2 separate regions of the Homo sapiens genome follow, and region 2 is linked to region 1. The links are contacts of gene promoters, found by promoter capture Hi-C in blood cells and fetal thymus (Javierre and others, 2016). All regions are on one chromosome and are shown on one strand. The core of a region is centred on a gene start or on the middle of the fragment in contact, and the rest is flanking DNA. Distances in the headings are between cores, read along the strand shown.

Region 1 (5,187 bases), core at 1,973-4,472:
GACATTTAGACAGCACCCATAAAGCTACTAGGGTTTAACAAAACCTTAATAGCTTTGCAGAGGAGAAATCCCACTCAACTAGCTTTATAAAGAGCTGATATCTACATCTGGGAGTCAGAAAATTTCTATAGTCTCACTTGGTTGCAAAAACTATTTGGTAATATTTTAACTTTGATAATATTTGACAATTTAACTTATGGGTTGCTTAACATTTTCCTTTAAAAATGGATTTAAGTCTCCAATTTAAAGCAAAAAGTATTAACGTTAAGCATTAATTTAAAAACTTCAAAACACCTTCAATAGTTCAATTTTATTGTAATTTAAAATCTACATTATAAAATTAAGGAAAATTACTTGAAGAAAATTTTCTAAAACAGTAACGAGTTACTTGTGATGCAAAATTATGGAACTTTTTATTTGTACATTTTTTCCACCAGGGTCAGGTTTATTCCTGATTAAAGATAAAATTACAAAGGCCACACTTACAGAGATCATTGTTGTAATTAAGCTTCAGCCTAATTATGTGTGAACCAATCCAATTATTCCCCAGAATATAAATTGTGTCAAAAACTGAGTGTGAATAGTCACTGGCATATACTAAGTATCATCAAAGATGATACAGTATCATATTTGCTAAGAGGAACATCTTACAAAAACTAGTCCTTATCTAAAAATAGCAACAACAACAGCAACAACAACAAAAGAATATTAACTCTAAAATAGAATCCAAAAAGGTCTTTTGGGAAGACCCATCTTTGTTTTTTTTTAAAAACATAAAAAAAAATCCTGTTTTTTCACTGCATATTTCTAAAATTCTATTTCCACCCACATGGTAAATTTTGTAGTCCTGAACAATGGCTTTAGATAGAAAAGCGTGCATGTAAGTTTAAGCACTACACTATTTTGCAGTGCTTTAACGTTTCCTTTCTTCCCCACAGATTGCCATGTAAAAGATGTTTCAATTCCTTAAAAGCTAGCCAAAGGCAGGGCTGGATGCATACAAAATAAAATTACAAAGTTGGAAACTTATAAATTTCAGTGAGTATTTGATCTGAAAGTCTTAAGTCTTCTTAATATTAGTAAAAAAACTGGGTCTTTAGTTTTTTAACGGAATTTAAAAACAATTCCTGGTAGAATCTTGTTTCAAAACACATTTGAAACTTAAAAACGAGACTTTCCTCTATTACATTAACATTTTGCCTATGTTAGAAAACAGAACCTGCCGCAGAAAGAGCAGGAACCCAATTTTCAACTGTTTAAAGTTTACTGCATAAATAAAGCTAAGGATTAAATGTTATTCACCATACTGTATCCATGCTAAAAAGGTCTTACCTTTTAAAAGCTAAAAAAACTAATTCATAGAATTACAATCAGACCTACTCTCGTAAGAGGATTCCAAATTTATTTGTGTACTTTATCAACCCAAAGTTGAACTGTATTCAAGAGATGTTTTCTATAAAAAGCAACTAATCTCTCAAAATCCTTCAATAACCTAATTACTCAACTGGGGGAAAAGGTGGGCAAGACAAAAGAGAATGTCCTTTTGTTACCATCTCTACACATACGTTCAAATGATAGAAAACACTTTGTGCGGTCTGTCAAGTTTTTAAGAGTGAATATAGACAAAAATGGATTGTGTATTAGATGCTCCGGATAAAATTTTTAAAGACCACTAAGGCTATTATTAATATTCTTTAAAATAGAAATTAACTTTCGGAGGCCTGGAAGGTATTTTTTATACTACATAATTTGCAGGGAAGTGGAAAAAGCCTACCTAATTGGTGAAGGACCAAAAGCAATGGCCAAAAAAACCCACAAAAATCTAATTAGTCGTTCATTTAACCAGGGAAATGCATTTATGGCGATTGAGCATGATTAATAGTGCATACCTCTACCTGCGACCCTGGGCTGCTCCGAGCCTCGCTGCAAGACTGAGTCAATCCTGCTAACGAAACAAGAACTGAGACAAGAGTGCAGTGAGGAGGCGCCAGGTGAGCTCCCCAGCACAGCCAAGCCAGCACCGACCCTGCCGCAGAAGCCCAGGGCCCAGATAATTCTAAATTAGCCCAATGCACAGGTGGCTGAGACCTCTTACTCCTGACTTCCTGCTGGGAAAATTTCCAGGCCTTCTGTACACCTCTTGAAATGGCACCTCTCCACCCTCATCCCCCCACCCCACCCGACACACACGCACTGACCATTTCCCTGCCTGGATCGGATAGTGAGTACCAACAACACGAGGCCAATACTGAAGTCATTACACGCCCTGGCCAGGGGTGAGCGGGAGAAGCACCAACAAGTTGGCGCTCAGCAGATCCACGTCAAAAGGAATAATTTTAAAGCTGTAAACTGGAAAGGCTTCTGTTACTCTTTCCTCCTCTCCCCCATCCCTCTTGCCCAACTCCCCCCAGGGGTGGGCAGGAGGTTGGGGGAGGAGAGAGATCAATAGTGGCGGGCTCTCCCGGCCCTAAAAATCTAAAATGGAAACGAGAGGGCGGCCCCAGTCCGACCCCTCCCAGACACACTACAGGCCGCAGCCACCCCTCCGCCGAACCACCTTCCCCCACCCACAAATCTTCAGATTTCGGGGGCCGCCTTCGCCCGTTTCCTCCATACCCCCTCTTCCGAACTTACCCCCAAAGCCAAGGCCTACACACTTCGTACCTTAAAGTAGATCTCGTCCACCACCTCGTGGTAGGTCTTGAGCTCGTAGAGCTGTACTTTGAAGTAAGGCGACGACAGGATGTTGGTCAGGATCATGGGGTTGAGGTTCATGGTCTTCTCGTTGCCCCAGAGCGGGAGCACATTGCCCTGCTTGCCGGAGACCGCCGGCTTGGTAGCGCCGCCGCCGCCGCACTGCTGCTGTTGCTGAGCCGCAGCTGCAGCCGCCTGGTGCTGCGGCTGCGAGTTGCCTGTCAGCGCGGGGCTGTTGTTAGCCATGTTGCGGCGGAAGGAAGGAGGGAGGGAAGGAGGGGGGGGAGGGGGCCAAGCTCGATCTCGCTCTTCGGGACAACGGTCTGGGACCCTACTCCATCGAACGTCGTCGGGAGAAGGGGCCGCCTCGCTGTGCCCCAGCTGGGCAAGAGAGGGCACCCGACGCCGACAAAATGACCCCGGGCCAAGAGCAGACAGCGAAACCCAGACCGCGAGAACTCCACGCAGAAGGCGAGCCGGCAGCCAGGGAGCTCGATCTCTTCCGCCAACTGCCCCTGGGAACAAGATGGCGGGCCCGGCGGATATGACGCCACGCACCCCAGCGTTCCAAGCTGAGCTGGCGGCCAATCAGAGACGCTCAGTTGGGCTGGAGCGTCCTCTTCCTAGGTCCCCGCGTTCTCTGCACGCTGAAGTCGCTGCAGTGACCTCCGTACCTGACTCTTAGGGGATTTCTCCTGAGAATTTGGGGGCCGGGGGAGAGGGTTGTAGGCCTAATCCGTTGTTGTTGTATTTTGACTGGGGGCTTGATTTCTTTTGTCGGGAGCTGAGCCAGGAAGGGTTCGCATGGCTGCGGTGTGCTTGCTAATATCGTCACTCTGACTTCTGCAGAGTATCCGAGAGGGGTCTCCTGGGATCTCAGTTTTAAGGTTCTCTGGAAGGTACAATGGTCAGGGACCCCACTCCTCCAGGAGATTCTGATCAAAGGTCACGTACTTCGCCAGCCTCTAGTGTCCAGCCAGAAGTCTTAAATTTATTCATCCGTAAGATTGAGATAACATCTGGCTGGGCTGTTGTGAGCATTGAAAGAGCTAATGTACTTGTAGTGCCTAGTAGACTGTTCCAGGCATCTGGTAGGCGCCTTTTCTTTTTCTCCCTGCTCCAGATCTTTGGATTCTAGGAATGTATCCGGAGTGATAAACATTGGGCGAGATACTGTATATTGGGAGTGGGTGTGTGAATGTGTGGGGAGTTTGAATGTGGCAATCTTGACTTCAGTGGCGCATACACAGGAGGAGAAAAGGATAAGATGGAAACTTTGGGGAAAATCCACATCTGGATGAAAATAAACCAGAAGAGGAGAGAGAGAGAGCGAAGACCAGCAGAAAAGTATTTAAACCAAGAGACAGTTGTTTGACAGAATACAAGGAAATAGAAAAGATAAGTGAATGGAGTGATTGATTAGTGTTTGGAGCTGTACGGTACGAAAGTGGATATCCTGTCTGGTTCCTTTGTTTTAGGTTGCAAGAGAACTAGAACCCTGAGAGGAGAAGCAGTTTTCACCTTCTTACTAGCAAATCTTGTTTTTCTCTATAGTGGTTTTTATTAACTTCCAAAGGAAAACTGAAGATCCTAACCCCTGTGTCATGAGTTATCACGTTAAAAGTCCATAGAAAAAATTTTTTTTAACCCAGTTCTTTTTGTGTATATATTTTTTGCCTTGATAATACTAGTTTATTGAGTTTGCCGAGTGACACATTGCCAAATCTTATGCCCTATTTTTAATTCCTCAGATACATGATCTTTCTGTATAGTCTTAGACAGTCTTTACCCCTAGTCTGTTTGGATGAAGAGCTTGGTAGAGAGGTTGAGTTTGATATCTAAGTGTCAGCGGCATCAAACTCGGAGCCAGGTATTATGATAAAGTGCTTTAACATATTCAGTGAATCCCTACAACAGGCTGAAGATGTTATTTTTATCCCCATTTTTTAGAAAACTTTATTCAGTTATAATTGAAGACCTCTACGCTGCACATATATAAAGCCGTAAGTTTGGTTTGATCAGTTTTGACATATATGTATACCCATTAAACCACTACTACAATAAACATAATCTTCTGTCAATCCCAAAAGTTTTCTTGTGCCCTTTGTAATCCATCTCTCTTTCCAACCTCATACCGAAGCAACCACTTTCTGTCAGTAGAGACTAGTTTGCATTTTCTTGAATCTTAAATAAATGAAATCATTATCCCCACACAGTGTTCTCTTTTTTTTTGCCTCCTTATTGCATGTATCAGCAGGTTGTGTTTTGTTTTAATTACTGATTAGTATTCAGTTGTATGGATTTATCACTATTTTGTTTATCTAATCATTGATGGGAACAGCATTTTTATTTGTAATAGCCCCAAATTAGAAACAACACAAATTGTTGTTGAAAATGCTGTGAACATTTGTGACTAGACTGTCTGGATTTTTTTTTTTTTTTTTTGAGACAGAGTCCCACTCTCTGGCCCAGGCTGGAGAGCCCTCTTTCAGC
Region 2 (4,713 bases), core at 1,585-4,084, 510 kb after region 1:
AGATTGTCTTGCAGGTCAGATTGTCTGTGTGCTGCTATGGCAGGCAGTAGCTGAGAGATGGAGCTACCTTAAGATCAATTGCCAGATAATCAGAGGTCAATTATCCCAGTGCATAAGTAGTGTACATATCAATTGTTCATTTTATAAAATTCTAAATGAACCAGAGGCAATAATTAAAGATGAAATTTTGATGGTATATTTGTAGGAAATCTACACAATGTTTCCCTAATTTCCCATGTTTGTGTATTTTAAAACAATGTGGCATTATTGGTTCATATTTTTATTTTTTAGACTTCCTTAATGCAAAACATATACAGTTGATCCTCATTATTTGGGGATTCTGTATTTGCAAATTTGCCTACTCAATAAAATTTATCCCCAAAGTAACCCCAAAATATATACTCACAGTACTTTCCCAGGCATTCATGGACATGCACAGAGCAGTGAAAAACTTGAGTTGCTCAGCATGTACATTCCTAGCTAGTAGAATAAGGCAATACTCTGCCTTCTTGTTTCAGCTCTCATACTATTAACTAGCAAGTATCCCTTTCAAGGTCTGTTTTGTGCCAGTTTTTGCATTTTTGTATTTTTGTTGGTAATTTCCTTTTTAAAATGTTCCCCAAAGGTAGTGCTGAAGTGCTGTCTAGTGTTCCTAAGTGCAAGAAAGCCATAGCATGCCTTATGGAGAAAATATATGCGTTTGATAAGCTTTGCCCCAAATTCAATGTTAGTGAATCAACAGCACACATTAAATGAGGTGCGTTCAAACAGAAACAGACATAAGACATGGTTATGTATTAATCAGTTGATGAAAGTGTTGTAATCAGAGGCTCACAGGAACCTAACCCTGTTTTTCCTGTAGGAACAATGGTTTGGTATTTGCTAATTCAGTGTTTGCAATGAATATAGAACTTTATGGAAGATGATTGCTGTGAATAATGAGAATTAACCATATCTCTTTAAGAGTGCATTTCTAAAGGAGAATATTCAGAAGGGTATTTGCATAATTTCTTTACTAACAGATGCTGCCTCTCACTGTCCTTACATGGTCCAGATTCTCATGCTGCTCCTTCCCTCTCCCCAGGAGGATTCTCTCAGAATCCTGTCATCTCTCCAGGGTCCTTTCTCCAAGAAAGTCTATCCTTTCACCACTAACAGTAATTTTGGTCTTCCTCTTTTTCTGGAGAAGTCAGCTGTTTATGCTGCTTCAGCACCAGACCCTCTCTTACTTTGTTTTGTTTCATTCTTTTTCATGTACAGTAGTCTTAGGATTCTCATGAGCCTGTGAGCTGCTAGAAGGAAATACAGCAGTGCTTACATTTATTGCTTCTATTTTATTTTCTATTTTCTCTTCCTGTCTTCTGATTGTTCTCCTTCTGTCCACAAACACGCTCTAATTTCCCTAGTATTAAAAATTTTCTGTCTTTTGTTGTTCTTTTATCCTTGCTCCCTTATTTTTACTGCCAGATTTTTATTTTTATTTATTTATTTTTGAGATGGAGTCTCACTCTGTCACCCAGGCTGGGGTGCAGTGGCGCGATCTCAGCTCACTGCAACCTCCGCCTCCCAGCTTCAAGCAATTTTCCTCTTTTAGCCTCCCAAGTAGCTGGGATTATGGGCACCTGCCACCATGCCTGGCTGATTTTTCTATTTTTAGTAGAGACGGGGTTTCACCATGTTGGCCACACTGCTCTCTAACTGCTGACCTCAGGTGAACCACCCGCCTCAGCCTCCAAAAGTGCTGGGATTGCAGGTGTGAGTCACTGTGCCTGGCCTTTTACTGCCAGATTTTTAAAAGAATAGTCTGTGCTTTAGCTCTATTTCCTCATTTACTACTTCTCTTTAACTCAGTCATATATGATGTTTTGCATAGTAAATGTCTAGTAATTTATTAAAAATGTAGAAATAGGTACTTTTAAAATGAATAGATCCTACTTTAATTGAATTTATCTTGGAGTTAGAATATCTTGATTTGGATTTTAGTTCTGCTACTTCTTAATTACATTACTTGGTAAGGCCACTTGTGAAGTCAGTCTCTTTGGAGGAATATTATTTATCTATAAGGCTGTTACAATTACTGAATTTTAAAAAATGTGTATTTATTTTTTAATGTATTTGTTACATTTTTAGTATTGATGTTGGGATAGGCATTTAAGCAAGTCTATAACTCACCTACATGCACAATTTTGCCTTAATCAGTTTAAAGCTTTCTCTTAAATGAGAGATTTGAAATTCATAATTTCTGTGGTTCTTACCAGTTCTGAGTTTTATTTTTTGCCCTTTTTATTTTTTTAAAGGAAAAATTGAGGCTTCAGAAATTGTCCAGTCTCTCCAGACACTGGGTCTGACTATTTCTGAACAACAAGCAGAGTTGATTCTTCAAAGGTAAGCTCTTCATGTTGGTCAACAATTGACTTTCACTTTAATATTCTGCATTAGAACTCTGTGTTTGTAAGTGTGGCTTTAAAACACCTCCCTAGTCTTCATTATGTATATCCAAGATCTTTTTGTCTTTTTTCCTCCCATTCATTTTGTATGTGTACATTTATCTAAAGTGTAAGAATGGGAAGTGTAAGCTCAGACTGGACTCTTTCTTTCAAGGCCTCAAAGGATAGTGGAATGGCAGGAAGTAAGGTTTTAACTCCATAGATGAGGAGCTGAAGAGTTTTGGTGTTGCTTTTTCTCCATTTGATTTCTAATGTGACAGTAAAACTCATTGATTCAAACTAAGAAGACTAGCAGATTCATCACATTATTTAACCTAGATGTGACTGGAAAAAAGGGAAATTACTAAGCTCTCCAAGCTAACAAAGAAATACCTGTTTAAACTTTCAGAAAACAGAAATGCAAATTTGAACCTTATTGTCTGGGGCAATCAGTTTGACTATTTAAGTCAGACTTTTATACTCTTAATGTTTTGTTTCATGGGATAGAGCAGTAATCTCTGCAGCCCAGGTGCTCTCAAATACTCTGTTGCTATAAACACAGGGCAGGAACTGATTTTTTATGATAACGTAAAACAGAAAGGACAATTATATTGTATTAATATTGTTGTGAATATTTTCAGTCCTCACATTGTCTAAAAATCTTTCTAAATGGCTTTGTTATTGAATTTATCTCATTTTATATCTGTGCCAATAGCATTTTCATCCTTTCTCTCTCTTCATAATTTCTTTTACAAACAGCTGCTCAAGAGGAAGGCTCAAAGTCTCAAGGCTGAGCACGTAATGACTTTTGTTAGTACTAGATGAGAAGGGCTTTCCTGAGGAAATGAAAACCTAAAACATGAAAAGAAGATAAACAGAATTTGGACAGTGAGATATAGAGCATATAATATTCTGCTTCTAAAGTAATATTCTTATAGGAAAGTGAGGGCTTTTCCCTGGCTGTTAGGCCAGAAATCATATTCCTATATTTTCTTTGATAGCTTTAGGAATAATGCAAATTCTAAGCCCAAGCTTCAGAATAGACTAAGAAGTATTAGCTTAGCTGCCATGACAAAATACCATAGGCTGGATGCATTAAACAATGGAAATTTAGTTTTTCACAGGTCTGGGAGCTGGAAGTTTAAGATGAGAGTGCCAGCATGGTTGGGTTGTAGTGAGGGCTCTCTTTCTGGCTTGCAGATAGACCCCTTCTCACTGTATTGTCATATGGCAGAGAGAGAGAGAGAGAGAGAGAGAGAGAGAGAGAGAGAGAGAGAGAGAGATCTTTCTCTTGCTTTCTATTATAAGGCCATAGTCCTGTTGGATCAGGGTTCCATTCTTATGACTTTATTTGACTTTACCCCCTAAAGATGCTATCTCCAGATATAATCACACGGTGGGTTAGGGCCTCAACATTTGGATTTGGGAGGGACACAGCTCAGTCCATAGCAAAGGATAATGCAGAGGGTTGGATATTTAAAAGTAGCTACACAATTTTTAATATAAATATTTTATGGTAACTTTTTTTTTTTTTTGAGATGGAGTCTAGCTCTGTTGCCCAGGCTGGAGTGCAATGGTGCGATCTCAGCTCACTGCAACCTCCGCCTCCCAGGTTCAAGCAATTCTCCTGCCTCAGCCTCCTGAGTAGTTGGGACTATAGGCACGCGCCACCACGCCTGGCTATTTTTTTTTATTTTTACTAGAGACGGGTTTGCACCATATTGGTCAGGCTTGTCTCGAACTCCTGACATCAGGTGATCCACCCATCTTGGCCTCCCAAAGTGCTGGGATTACAGAAGTGAGCCACCGCACCTAGCCAGCAGCTTTACTGAGATGTAATTCACATGCCATAAATTCACTTTTCTAAAGTATACAATTCAGTGACTTAAAACATTTATTTATTTTTAAATTGACAGAATTACATGTATTTATCATGTACAACATGATGTTTTGAAGTATATGTACATTGTGGAGTGACTAAGTCTAGCTAATTAACATGATACATCTCATACTTAATGATTTCTGTGGTGAGAACACTTTACATCCATTCTCTTAGTATTTTTCAAGAATATAATATATTATTATTAATTGTAGTCTTCATGTTGTATAGTGGAGCTCTTGAACTTATTCCTCATGTCAAGCTGAAATTGTGTGTCCTTTAACACAAACCATACCCGACTCCCAAAGTATTCTGCTCTCTGCTTCTATGAGATTAACTTTTTCTGATTCCACATGAGTGAGATCATGCAGTATTTATTTGTCTTTACCTGGCTTATTTCATTCATAT

Evidence for each region. The method cuts DNA at HindIII sites, captures the fragments that hold promoters and counts their contacts. A CHiCAGO score of 5 or more calls a contact.
Region 2: a fragment that was not itself captured here is called in contact with the fragment with the promoter of PRPF38B in region 1 in 2 of 17 cell types (M1 macrophages and M2 macrophages); the score reaches 5.5 in M1 macrophages.

The regions. Positions count from the first base shown.
Region 1 is chr1:108,690,345-108,695,531 of GRCh38, reverse strand. PRPF38B (pre-mRNA processing factor 38B) reads right to left here and starts at 3,222. Exons shown (of 6, transcript NM_018061.4): 1 at 2,665-3,222. The coding sequence starts at 2,940. RefSeq lists enhancers at 1,760-2,320, 2,971-3,300, 2,883-3,443, 3,381-3,570. The HindIII fragment of the contact is 12,264 bases long and covers 511-5,187 here.
Region 2 is chr1:108,179,613-108,184,325 of GRCh38, reverse strand. SLC25A24 (solute carrier family 25 member 24) reads left to right here. Exons shown (of 10, transcript NM_013386.5): 3 at 2,298-2,385. Among named protein-coding and RNA genes, the nearest start is that of SLC25A24, 18 kb to the left of the region's middle. The HindIII fragment of the contact is 1,252 bases long and covers 2,209-3,460 here.